2 separate regions of the Homo sapiens genome follow, and region 1 is linked to region 2. Evidence: promoter capture Hi-C in human tissues and cell types (Jung and others, 2019). All regions are on one chromosome and are shown on one strand. Each heading gives the region's core, a stretch centred on a gene start or on the middle of the fragment in contact. The rest is flanking DNA. Distances are from core to core; before and after follow the strand shown.

Evidence for each region. Contacts are between HindIII fragments. The study calls those that stand out against the background at their distance.
Region 1: a contact is called between the fragment with the promoter of ZNF274 here and the fragment with the promoter of ZIM3 in region 2, in 1 of the 25 tissues and cell types used here (small bowel).

What each region holds. Positions count from the first base shown.
Region 1 is chr19:58,178,087-58,185,375 of GRCh38, reverse strand. ZNF274 (zinc finger protein 274) reads right to left here and starts at 2,315. Exons shown (of 8, transcript NM_133502.3): 1 at 1,934-2,315; 2 at 1,378-1,455. The coding sequence starts at 1,410. RefSeq lists enhancers at 1,463-1,652, 1,279-1,990, 1,903-2,322, 1,991-2,704. The HindIII fragment of the contact is 17,090 bases long and covers 1-7,289 here.
Region 2 is chr19:57,139,814-57,146,451 of GRCh38, reverse strand. ZIM3 (zinc finger imprinted 3) reads left to right here and starts at 1,250. Exons shown (of 5, transcript NM_052882.1): 1 at 1,250-1,593; 2 at 3,767-3,823. The coding sequence starts at 3,809. The HindIII fragment of the contact is 26,155 bases long and covers 1-2,799 here.

The sequences.
Region 1 (7,289 bases), core at 1,066-3,565, 1.0 Mb before region 2:
CTTGGCTCACTGCAGCCTCCACCTCCCAGGTTCAAGCGATTCTCCTGCCTCAGCCTCCTGAGTAGCTGGGATTACAGGCGCATACCACCATGCCCGGCTAATTTTTGTATTTTTAGTAGAGATGGGGTTTCACCATGTTGGTCAAGCTGGTCTCGAACTCCTGACCTTGTGATCTGCCTGCCTCGGCCTCCCAAAGTGCTGGGATTACACATGTGAGCCACCGCACCCGGCCCTATTTTTCTTTTCTTTTTTTTTTGAGACGGAGTCTCTCTCTGTCGCCCAGGCTGGAGTGCAGTGGCGCCATCTCGGCTCACTGCAAGCTCCGCCTCCCCGGTTCACGCCATTCTCCTGCCTCAGCCTCCCGAGTAGCTGGGACTACAGGCGCCCGCCACCACGCCCGGCTAATTTTTTGTATTTTTTTAAGTAGAGACGGGGTTTCACTATGTTAGCCAGGATGGTCTCAATCTCCTGACCTCGTGATCCACCTGCCTCGGCCTCCCAAAGTGCTGGGATTACAGACGTGAGCCACCGCGCCCGGCCCCCTATTTCTTATTCATTTGAAAATTCTGACTTTGGGAGTGGTGCGTATGCCTCCTAGGGAATTCTCTGAGCTGCACCATCACACCCAAGCCGTCAGCCCCTACCCAGGGCCCTGATGCTTCTTTCTATCTCCTTCACCTGTCAGGGATCCATCCTCACCTGTCTTTTCTACTTGTTATTGAACTCTGCTGCTGTCACCTCTTGCTTGATGCCAATTTATCTGCTGAAATCTAAACATAAGCCTGATCCCTGCATAGACCTTTGGGAGGCCGAGATGGTCGGATCACCTTAGGTCAAGAGTTCCAGACCAGCCTGGCCAACATGGTGAAACCCCGTCTCCACAAAAAACACACACAAAAAATAAAAATAAAAAAAAAATTAGCTGGGTATGGTGGCACACGCCTGTAGTCCCAGCTACTCGGGGAGGCTGAGGCAGGAGAATCACTTGAACCCAGGAGGCGGAGGTTGCAGTGAGCCAAGATCGCGCCACTGCACTCCAGCCTGGGCGACAGAGGGAGACTCCATCTCAAAAAACAAAAAACAAACAAACAAAAGACCTGTCAATTACTCTTCCCAATATAAAGGATACAAGCAAGAGCCTTAACCTGGCCTTCAGAAGCCCCTACAATCTGGTCTCTATTCTAACTACACCCTTGGAAAACCAAGCAACCTGCGGTTCCACCATCACGCAGGATCTCTCATGCCCAACCAATCTCTACCCCCTCCCCGAGGTGCTCTGGAGGATGGGGGTATCTCAGGGAAGGTGGTATCTCACCACCATCCGCATCCTCCCAGGTGCAGTAGCGGACTCAAAAGCTGAAGGAAGCCTCTACTCACACAGGACCAGGCCGTCGGAAGCCTGGAGGCCATAGTTTCCTCCTTCTCAATGTGTCTCTGGTGGAAGTGGGCAGAGTCCTGAGGAAACCGAAGTTGGGAGGGGAGGGAGAGGCTTAAGGTGTCCGCTGGGGAGCTACCGCAGCCTCCGCCCAGGAACGGCTCCCTCAGCGGGAAATGACAAGTCCACCCAAACTGGAAAACGCCCAGAGTGAGTCATAGGACTCCCACAGGACTGGATAGGACCAGTTTTCCCCTCCCCGAGAGGACACCGAGCCTCCTCTGTCCCGCGCATCGGAGGGGATCGCCTCCCTGGCCCAGACCCCACGCTTCCGGAGGCGATCTGTTCTCTCCACCGCGGCGCCCCGAAAGCACTGTCTCCCCTCGGGGTTCCGGGTCACCGACCCCATCCCACAGAGCGGCGGGAGGACTGCAGGCACGGCCGGCTCAGGGTACCCGAGCTCGGCGGAAAATGCAGAGGCCGCGCTCGCCCCCAACTAACGGTTCTGGACCCGCCCAGCGCAGCCCCCGACGGACGCAGGTTTCGCGCGGCACTCACCCGGCGCGCGCCGCACAATGGCGCCCGTCGGCCGGCGGCGAAGTGCGTCAGCCCGCCGTCCCGAACTACAACTCCCAGACGCCCCCGCGGCGCGCCAGCTTGCCTCACCCAGCGGCGGCCATCTTGACTGGCCGGTTAGGGGCGGCAGGCGAAGCCGGGGACAGCAGGAGGAGGATACTCGTCGATGTCCCTCGGCGGTCCAGCTAGGCAAGGGGAGGCCTCTGGTGAGGGACGCTAGGCCGCAGGGCCCCACACTAATGTGGGCGGCGACCCGAGCTGGGAGAGAGTCGTGCCCTGCCACGAAGGCGACCACTCTTGGGGCAGAGCAGAAGCTGGAGAAAGGAAAGGCGCTGGACAGGGGTCAGGCCGGAAGTGCTGGAATGGGTGATGCTTGGTTGGGTGGCGGTGGGGGCGGGATTAATTATGACGTCCCTTGGGAAGAGGAAGGGCGGGTAGGGCCGGAAGTGCAGGGGGCGGGCCTAACTGGCCGTCCATCTGGGTGGAGGGGCGGGGACAGGGAGGGCGGGGAGAATGTAGGAGGCGGGGCTAGAGTCCACGCAACTTTTGGGGAAGGAGGGGGACTGGAAGACGGAAGTCGCGGGGGGAGTGGGGAGAGGTACTGAAGTTCCACCAGTTTCAAAGTCGAGAAAGAAGGGGAGGACTGGGAGAGCCGGAAGTGTGCAGGAGTTGGGACTGACGGCACTTATGTTTCTGGGAGATGGGTCCTGCCTGAAAGTGAGGGTGGACAGGGCCAAGTGTCCACTCAAGGTCAGGGAGGGGAGGGAAACTCGGAGGACCGGAAGTGTGATGGGAACGTGGCCAAACGTCCACCCTAGTTCTGGGGATTAGAGGAAGGGAGTAGGAAGGTCAGGGGTGTGCAAGGGGAAGGAGGGAAGACTAGGTGGACCACAAGTGTGATGGGAATGAGGCCAAACGTCTACCCTAGTTCTGGAGAGATGATCAGGGCTAACTGTACCCCAGGCATTGGGGAGGAGGAGCAGGATCCTCTGCCTAGTGTCCCCCTGTGGTCCAGTTTGCTCCTGGAAGCTGAGGTGCTCATGTCTAGGGAGAGGAAACCTAAGTCTGTAGCTGTCCAGGACCTGGTGTGTGCCACCCATCCTTGGGCCCAGGGTGCTCTCATCTTCCTTGGGAGCTCAGGACAAGGAGGTATTCTCTTGGCTTCCTCAAGGACCGACATCTGGTGTTTTCTTATCTTCCTTAGGTCCCAGGTCCCAGTATGGTCTTGTCTTCTTGGGACCTGAGGGCCCTAATGATCTCTCTCAGTGCTCAGGACCCTGTGTCCTCTTTCTTGATATTTCCTGGCAGGTCTCAGCAGCCCTCTGCCTCCCTCTGGTGGTCGTGTACACTGCCTGCTAAACTTGTTCCACGGGTTGTTGGTTTTTTTGGTCACTGTGGAGGATCCAACCTCAGGCTACACATTGTTTAATTGTTGCTGTTAGTGTGTTGATTTTGGCATAGGAGTATTTACTCAGAGACTGTGCAGATATCTTATAGTCTAATAATATTTCATTGGATTTTTCGTGTCTATTATAGATACAACACCATCCCCAATTAATAAGTAATTTGATATCTTCTTTTTCCATATTTCAACTTTAAAAAATTAACATTGTATAGTCCTAGCTAGTATGACAGAGCTATGTTAAGTAGTCATGTTTACTAATAGTCTTGTTTTGTTCTGGATTTGAATAGGATACGTCTAGCCCTTCATAATCACAAGGAAGCAAACCCCCTTGGAAATTCTTTTTTTTCTTTCTTTTTTTTTTTCTTGAGACAGGGTCTTGCTCTGTCACCCCGACTGGAATGCATTGGTGCGATCACAGCTTACTGCAGCCTCCACCTCCTGGGCCCAAGTGATCCGCCCACCTTAGCCTCTCAAATAGCTGGGACAGGTGCACACCACCACACCTGGCTTTTTTTTTTTTGGAGACAGAGTCTTGCTCTGTCGCCCAGGCTGGAGTGAGGTGGCACAATCTCGGCTCACTGCAACCTCTGCTTCCTGGGTTCAAGCGATTTTCCTGCCTCAGCTGCCCAAGTAGCTTGGACTACAGGTGTGTGCCACCATGCCTGGCTAATTTTTGTATTTGTAGTAGAGACGGGGTTTCTCCATGTTAGCCAGCCTGGTCTCGAACTCCTGACCTCAGGCAGTCTGCCCACCTCAGCCTCCCAAAGTGCTGAGATTATAGGCATGAGCCACCCCGCCTGGCCTCTTTTGTACTTTTTTGTAGAGACAGAAACCTCACTATGTTGCCCAGGCAGGTGGAAATTCTTCTAATGATTTCTTTCTATTTATGTGGTATAGGATAAAACCTGATTTTTGATTAAAAGAATTTGTTTTTGAGACAGGGTCTTGTTCTGTTGCCCAGGCTGGAGAGCAGTGCTGCAGTCATGGCTTACTGCTGGCCCAACCTCCTGGGCTCAAGTGTTCCTCCCATCTCAGCTTTCCAAGTAGCTAGGACTGACTACTGGTGTGCATCACCACACCTGGCTAATTTTTAATAAATATTTGTGTAGAGATGAGGTCTCAGTGTGTTGTCAGGGCTGGTCTTGAACTCCTGGACTCAAGCAATCCTCCCGCCTTGGCCTCCCAAAGTGCTGGGATTGCAGGCGTGAGCCACCATGCCTGACCAAAGATGTTTTGTTTTTTTTTTTTTGTTTTGAGACAGAGTCTCGCTCTTTCGCTCAGGCTGGAGTGCAATGGCGTGATTTCGGCTCAACTGCAACCTCTGCCTCCCGGGTTCAAGTGATTCTCCCTGCCTCAGCCTCCTGAGTAGCCGGGCGTGCCACCATGCCCGGCTAATTTTTGTATTTTTAGTAGAGATGGGGATTTGCCATGTTGGCCAGGCTGGTCTCGAACTCCTGACCTCAGAGGATCCGCCCACCTCGGCCCCGCAAAGTGCTGGGATTACAGGCTTGAGCCACTGTGCCCAACCTAAAGATGGTTTTATATAAGCATATTATTGAAGATTGATTTATGAGAGCCATTTTAATTCAACTTTTAATAACTGCATACTCTTTTCCTGTTTAGCAAATTAAATATGCTGTTTATTGTAATTTGTAAAATAAAAATGACTTCTGAAGAAATGTTAACTATTAAACATGTAAAATGTTGAAAAAATTTATTCATCGTTGTTGGATTTAGACAGTGCCTCGATTGCTTGTTCAAAACCTTCTGAGCCAGATGTATTTTGGAATTCATGATCATTTGGATTTTAGTAGGATGGTAATGTATTTACACCATACAGTGTGTAAATCCCTAAGAGGTGTGGGGTAGCACCTGCCATCAAACACATGAGTATATCTGTAGCAAAATACAAGAAGATTTACACTAGGTGGAAGAGAGACAAAATATAAATAGCCTTGTTCATATAAATTTTGCAGACTCATAACAGGGAGAAATTTTCTGTTAGAAAATATCTGGAATTTTGAATTACATAGAAGGCATTATGGATCATAAGTGAAAATGTGTGTTGTAGAAATAGTAGTTATTTCATTCAATTGCAAAGTTTAATTTTTACTTTTTCTCTCTTAATATAGTCTGCATAGGGCCAGGTGCGGTGGCTCACACCTGTAATCCCAGCACTTTGGGAGGCTGAGGTGGGTGGATCACCTGAGGTCAGGAGTTCGAGACCAACCTGGCCAACATGGTGAAACCCCGTCTCTACTAAAGGGGGCTCCATCTCAAATATATATATATTCCACATAGTCAGGCATAGGTTTATTGAGATACTGAGTTATTTAAATATATTAATATTTTTCCATGTGCTTTTTTTTTTTGAGATGGAGTTTTGCTCTTGTTGCCCAGGCTGGAGTGCAATGGCACTGCAACCTCCGCCTCTGCCTCCCGGGTTCTAGCGGTTCTCCTGCGTCATTCTCCCTAATAGCTGAGATTACAGGCAGATGCCACGACGCCCAGCTAATTTTTATATTTTTAGTAGAGACAGGGTTTCACCATGTTGGTCAGGCTAGTTTCGAACTTCTGACCTCAGGTGATCTGCCCATTTTGGCCTCCCAAAGTGCTGGGATTACAGGAGTGAGCCACTGCCCCTGGCCCCATATGCTTTTTTAAATCAATGGTCTACTGTTGGTTTAAATTAAACAACATATGGCCGGGCGCAGTGGCTCACGCCTGTAATCCCAGCACTTTGGGAGGCCAAGGTGGGCAGATCATGAGGTCAGGAGATCGAGACCATCCTGGCTAACATGGTGAAACCCCGTCTCTACTAAAAATACAAAAATTAGCCGAGCATGGTGGCGGGCGCCTGTAGTCCCCGCTACTCGGGAGGCTGAGACAGGAGAATGGCATGATCCCAGGAGGTGGAGCTTTCAGTGAGCCGAGTTTGTGCCACTGCCTTCCAGCCTGGGTGACACAGCGAGACTCCATCTCAAAATAAATAAATGAATAAATAAATAATAAATAAACAACATATGACTAAGAATAAAATATGTAAAGCTATAAGTTGGCCCAAACCATTATGGCAGCTGGACCATTATGGCAGCTAGTGGTGTTCAACTGAGTCCTAAGCCAGCTGTGCAACTGAATCATGGACCCAGGATTTGATCTCCACTCATCATTCTCTGTCTCTGTTTCATCACACAGAGCATCTCAAATTGTTCCATGTAAAGGGGGATACATTTTAAAATCATTTTTAAAAAGAAGAAAGATGTGTCTTTCCATCTTTGAAATGTGAGCTTTGAGGACACCTCTCTGAACTTCTGAGAGCTTGGGAATGTAAGGTTACAGAAGTATGGATAAATTAATGTGCATTTGAACTATAAATTATTAATATCATAGCTTTTTTCCCAGAAAAGAGGCTCTTTGGTTACTGCTGCTCATTCATTCTTTGCCTGTTTTCCCCAACATCAAAGGTAAACTCACCATCAAGATAATCCACACTGGACATAACACATGGGGGAAAGGCTAAGAATTTGGGCTCTGAGCAGAGGCCGATCACAAACAACCTCCAGAAAACGGCCTGCCTCAAAGAGGAATGCAGGAAGTCCACAGAATGCCGGACAAACCAGTGAGGCAGGTTTGGAATAATCTAGTACATGCCTTTGCACCCTGTATCCGTTAAGGCATGTTTGGTTGGAAATAAATAAAAACCCAAATAACCAACGCCGTTTTCCCACAAAGAAAATCTGCAAGTATAGGTCTTTTCTGGTGCTGGTTAAGCTGCCCACTGAAGTCACGGAGGATGAGGCTCACTCTTTCCCTCTTGCTGTCCTTAGTGTGGGGCATCTTTTCTTTAGGCCATTAGGATGTAGACAAGGAACAAGCCAGCCACACACCTCCTGCTAGTCCTGAACACAACCCATCTCAATATTTCCTGCCTTA
Region 2 (6,638 bases), core at 1-2,500:
ATATATAAAATCACTCCACCCCTTTCCGTTCACCTGCAGGCTTGCTCTGTCTCTCAGGCTGGAATGCAGTGGCAAGATCCTTGCTCACTGCAGCCTTGACCTCTTGGGCTCAATTGATCCTCCCACCTCAGCCTTCCAAGTATCTGGGACTATAGTAGTCCGACACGGCGGCTGGGATTCAGGCTGGCTGGGTCATTTTGCTTTTTTTTTCTTTTTTTTTTTTTTGAGATGGAGTCTCCCTCTGTCGCCCAGGCTGGAGTGCAGTGGCATGATCTCAGCTCACAGCAACCTCTGTGTTTTGGGTTCAAGCAATTCTGCCTCAGCCTCTTGAGTAGCTGAGTAGCTGGGACTACAGGTGTGTACCACCATGCCCAGCTAATTTTTGTATTTTTAGTAGAGACAGGATTTCACCATGTTGACCAGGCTGGTCTTGAACTCCTGACCTCAGGTGATCTGTCTGCCTCAGTCTCCCAAAGTGTTGGGATTACAGGCTTGAGCCACCGCACACCGCCAAGGGTCATTTGCTAATACGATCTTTGGATACCTCTTCTCCTGGGAGGAGGTCTAGTCTGGTGCATCCTGTCCCATGAAGTCTGGTTTAATCTCTTGGAATTCAGTTGGACGCTCAATTTTGGAAGGTCTCCATGTCTGCAGGCAAGGGCATGTAGCCTGTGTTTAAATTCAACACCCAGACTAGGGTGGGGATGGATTGGCATGTTGATCTCATTTTGAGAGTATTAGTACAGCTGAAGAGATTTTGCCAGTTGGAGGTTGGAGCCTGAATTCTTTCTGTCGGGCGGAGAGCACTTTAAGGCATTGTTCCACCTCCGCTGGCCCTATTTCTTTTTTCTTTTCCTTTCTTTTTTTTTTTTTGAGACGTGAGATGGAGTCTCGCTCATTGCCCAGGCTGGAGTGCAGTGGCACGATCTTGGCTCACTGAAGCCTCCGTCTCCCGGGTTCAAGCGATTCTCCTGCCTCAGCCTCCCAAGTAGCTGGGATTACAGGCACGTGCCACCATGACCAGCTAATTTTTGTATTTTTAGTAGAGACGGGGTTTCCCCATGTTGGCCAGGCTGGTCTTGAACTCCTGTCCTCCCAAAGTGCTGGGATTACAGGCATGAGCCACCGTGCCCAGCCAATTTTTGTTGTTTTAATTTATTTTCATCCTCTGACATTTGGATAATGTTTTCCATGCTTTCTATTTCAAAGTTAAGGTAAAAAATTTTTACTTGCATGAACTTAAAAAAAATTCCATTGGAAACTGATTGGGCAGATTTGAAAATTAAGCTTTCACAATCACAATTTTTATGAGAGTTCATTCAGTTTTGGAGAAGTCGAGGAAAGAATTGGGAATTGAAATTTTGATGTGGCCTGATAGGATCAGGTGGGGCTTTTGATAGGAAGTGAGTGTTTTGGGTTGTTTCTTGACTGGATTATGATGCGGAATACAGCGGGTAGAGGGCCGATTAAGTTTTAGTCATTAGTGTAGCTTTTCAGTATACACGCCTTTTCATTTTCAGTCCCTTTCAGAAGAAAAGACCACAGGCATCAGAAATCAATCAACTTGCTAATTTATGCCAGATTCCACTGGAGGTAAGCTGATTTTTTTTTCTCCCTGAAAACCAAATGTCTGGGTTTTGTTTGTTTGTTTGTTTTGCATTTTTACTTAGTTTCATTTTTCTACCTCTCCTATTTGCTGGAATAAGCTAAATATTTTACATTGGTAGTTTAGATTTTTTTTTTAGTTGTCATATTGAAAAGTGATGCTCCCAGGACACTCAAAATTATTTTCGTGGCCCTCCAGTCCTTAGCATTACTGCTGGCCCACAGCTACTTCTAAAAACTTTTTATTGACAAATAATAATTGTGTTTATTTATGGGGTACAATGTGATGTTTTGATACATGTTTACATTGGGGGGATGATTAAATCAAGCTAATTAATCTATTTTTGTGGTGAAAGCATTTACAATTTACTGTTTTTTAAAATTATATATATTTTTTGTGCTAGAATTGGACTCCTCAAACTTTAATAAACATTAAAGTTGTGCCCGGCAAGTTTATTCTTTTTAAAAACATATTTACTTATTTAAAACTTTATTCCTGGCTGGTGTGGTGGCTCATGCATGTAATCCCAGGATTTGGGGAGGCTGAGGGAGGAGGATTGCTTGAGCCTAGGAGTTTGAGACCAGTTTAGGTGACATAGCAAGATCCCTTCTTTACAAAAAATAAAAAGTTAGCTGATGTGGTAGCATGCACCCATAGTCTTAACTATTCAGGAGGCCAAGGTAGGAGGATTGCTTGAGCCAGGGATTTTTAAACTGCTGTGAGCCGGGATCACATCACTGCACTCCAGCCTGGGTGACAGAATGAGACCCTGCCTCAATAAAATAAAATAAAAAATAAAAACTTTATTACTTAAACATTGAGACAGAGGTTTCACTATGTTGCACAGGCTGGTCTCAAACTCCTGGGCTTGGCTGGATGTGGTGGTTCACGCCTATAATCCCAGCACTTTGGGAGGCTGAGGCCGGCGGATCACTTGAGATCAGCAGCTCGAGACCAGCCTGAACAACATGGTAAAACCTTGTCTCTACTAAAAATGCAAAAATTAGCTGGGCATGGTGGTGCATGCCTGTAATCCCAGCTACACGGGAGGCTGAGGCAGGGGAATCCCTTGAACCCGGGAGGCAGAGGTTGCAGTGAGCCGAGACTGTGCCACTGCACTCCAGCCTGGGCGACAGAGCAAGACTTGGTCTTAAAAAAAAAAAAAAAAAAGTAACTCCTGGGCTCAACTGATCCTCCCACCTTGGCTTTCCAAAGTGCTGGGATTATAGGTGTGAGCTGCCACGCGTGGCCAAAATCTACGCTTTTGGCAAAGAATTACCAATGATCCAGCTGTCCCGCTTATGGCAAAGCTGAAGGGCTATCTGCATCCCATGTTCACTGCGGCGTTATTCGTCACGACCACAGCTGCTTCAGGATTCATGGTTTCTGCTCTCGGCCTTCCTTACTGTGCTCTAGCTGATCTGATGCTTGCCTCATTGTCTTTGCACAGGCTTGTTTTAAAGGTGCTGTTGAACTGCTGTTTAGCTTTCTCTCTCTCTCTTTTTTTTTTTTTTTGGGACGGAGTCTCGCTCTGTCGCCCAGGCTGGAGTGCGGTGGCGCGATCTCGGCTCACTGCAAGCTCCGCCTCCCGGGTTCCCGCCATTCTCCTGCCTCAGCCTCCCGAGTAGCTGGGACTACAGGCGCCCGCCACCACGCCTGGCTAATTTTGTTTTTGTATTTTTAGTAGAGACAGGGTTTCACCGTGTTGGCCAGGATGGTCTTGATCTCCTGACCTCGTGATCCGCCTGCCTCGGCCTCCCAAAGTGCTGGCATTACAGGCATGAGTCACCGCGCCCAGCCAATTTTGTATTTTTAGTAGAGACGGGGTTTCACCATGTTGGACAGGCTGGTCTCGAACTCCTGACCTCTGGTGATCTGCCTGCTTCAGCCTCCCAAAGTGCTGGGATTACAGGCGTGAGCCACCGTGCCTGGCTTGCACTTTCTTCTTTGAGACCCAGTCTCAATAAATAAACAAACACAAAAAAACCAAAACAAAAAAAAAAAAGACCTTCAGAAGGGGATCACTGAGGTACAAGTCAGGGCTTTTCTGAGTGGGTTAGGGAGAGCTTTTATCCAGGGTGTGGAGCATTCTATGCTGGATGATCCCCAACTTCCAAAGCGAATTCTGCTATTTCATGGTTCTTTTCCATTTTCCCTCAGATCTGCCTTCCCAAGACTTTACTGACTGGTGAAGAACAGGAAATGAACAATTCCCAGGTGAGCTTTTCAAAAAAATCTAAATCTCATAATGAATAAACGTATGACCCACGTTCCTCTTGCTCAGAATTAACTGTGCTAACCTTTTGGCATATTTTCCTCCTTCCTTCCATACTTCTATTAAAAGGTAACACACACTCTACTTTCTGCTTTCCTATTAAAGCTGAAACATTTCAAGTAAAGCTCAAGGCTGGGCATGGTGGCTCACACCTGTAATTCAGCAATCTAGGAGGCCAAGGCAGGCGGATCGCTTGAGTTCAGGAGTTTGAAACCAGCCTGGGCAACATGGCGAGATCCCGTCTCTACAAAAAATTAGCTGGGTGTGGTGGTGGTGGCGTACACCTGTAGTCTCAGCTACTCTGGAGGCGGAGGTGGGAGAATCGCTTGAACCTGGGAGGTTGAGGCTGCAGTGAGCCATGATTGTGCCACTGCACTCCAGCCTGGGTGACAGAGCATGACCCTGTCTCAAAAAAAAAAAAAAAAAAAGCTTGGTTACGGAAACACCAGGAGTTTGGTCTAGGTCCTGCTACTGGCTGCACAGAAAGCCAATGACTGAGACAATGGGTATTGCCAAGGAAGAAGCTTTAATCAGCTGCCGTAGGTGAAGAAATGGGAGCTCAGCCTCAAATCCATCTCCCTAACTCACTAAAACTAGGGGTTTATACAGCATGGAAGAAATATAACAATGTGTAAGAAAGCAAGACTAGGGAGGGGGCAAGGAGACATCTGTTGTGGTGAGTTTCAGTTGTGGTGAGTTTCAGTTGATTTTTTTTTTTTGAGGGAGTCTCGCTGTGTCACCCAGGCTGGAGTATAGTGGTGCAATCTCAGCTCACTGCAACCTCTGCCTCCCAGGTTCAAGCGATTCTCCTTCCTCAGCCTCCTGAGTTGCTGGGATTACAGGTGTGCGCACCACCACTCCTGGCTAATTTTTGTATTTTTTGGTAGAGACGGGGCTTCACCATGTTGGCCAGGCTGGCCTCGAAATCTTGACCTCAGGTGATCTGCCTGCCTTTGAGAGATCTGAAGGTCTTTTCCTGAGGAAGGAACTCAGACAAAACAAATACAGGTTTCAAGCTTTAACAGCGGAAGGGTCAATTTCTATGTTTATCCAAAAAACAAAAACAAAAACAAAAACAAAAAACAAAAAACCCACAACTGTCTATGGGATTACTGGGCTGGTTTCAGCTCAAGCATCTTTGTTTTGTTGTTTTTTTTTTTTTTTTTTTTTTTGAGACAGTCTCCCTCTGCCACCCAGGCTGGAGTGCAATGGCTTGATCTTGGCTCACTGCAACCTCCACCTCCCAGGTTCAAGCGATTCTCCTGCCTCAACCTCCTGAGCAGCTGGGATTACAGGCGCACGCCACCACGCCCACGCCCGGCTAATTTTTGTATTTTTAGTAGAGATGGGGTTTTACCATATTGGTCGGGCTGGTCTCGAACTCCTGACCTCAGGTGATCCACCCGCCTCAGCCTCCCAAAGTTCTGGGATTACAAGGGTGAGCCACCACGCCCAGCCTCAAGCATCTTTTGACCATTGCTCTTACAAACCTGGTCCACTGCTAAGCCCTGAGATGTAACAGTGTCATGTGTGTTTCACCCCAACCTATTTTTTAAATGATTGGTGTCTTGAATGTGTGTCCTCTCCCAACTTTGTTCGGTGTGTATTTGAAACAAATTCTGTAAATCCACACAATAAACTGAAAAATCATTAACTAGTACCAGTCGGAATCAAAGTAAATTATGGATAGCTGAAAGACCAAGGATAAGTTGTATGCAGTTAGGCAGATAGTAGTTTCTTTGCAATTGTTAAAATTAAGCCTGTTGACCAATTTCCTGTTGACAGGAAAGGCATACTAAGGCTGGGTGTGGTGGCTCACACCTGTAATCCCAGCACTTTGGGAGGCGAAGGCAGGAAGACCACTTGAGGCCAGGAGTTCAAGACCAGCCTGGACAATATAGTGAGACCCTGTCTACAAATAATAAAAAATGAGCTTAGCATGGTGGTGCATGCCTGTAGTCCCAGCTATTCTGGAGGCTGAGGTAGGAGGATTGCTTGATCCTGGGAGGTTGAGGCTGCAGTGAGCCATGATCATGCCACTGTACTCCAGCCTGGGTGGCAGAGCAAGAACCTGTGTCAAAAATTTAAAAAAAAAGGCCGGGTGCGGTGGCTCATCCCTTTAATCCCAGCTCTTCGGGAGGCCGATGCGGGCAGATCACTTGAGGTCAGGAGTTTGAGACCAACCTGGCCAACATGGTGAAACCCGTCTCTACTAAAAGTACAAAAATTAGCCAGGTGTCGTGGTGCGCGCCTGTAATCCCAGCTGCTCAGGAGGCTGAGGCAGGAGAATCGCTTGAACCCAGGAGGTGGAGGTTGCAGTGAGCCGAGATTGTGCCACTGCACTCCAGCCTGGGCTACCAGAGTGAGCCTCTGTCCCCTTCCCCGCCAAAAAAAATTAATAAATAAACAAAATTTTAAAAAAGCGAGCTAGAGCACAAACACAACTAAAAAATTTATCTGTCCAAGAGGACACTAGGTGCTGGCTCTTAGAGGTGAGATTTTCAGTTTCTGACAAAGGAATTCGCTTTACAAGTGTGACTTCCAACACTGTGAGTGTTGAGTGGCAGGGGCAAAATGCTGCCGTAAGTCCAGTATGGCTGCAGGAGAGACCCAGGGGAGTGCTGTGTGACCCTGTGTGAGTGGGAGTGTGGTAGACATGCCAGACGCTGGCCCCTGTAACAGGTGTCACCTGTTTCTCCCAAATGCAAGGAAAGCTGATAAATTAGGGGAGCGCACCATCCAGTCTGAATGTCGACT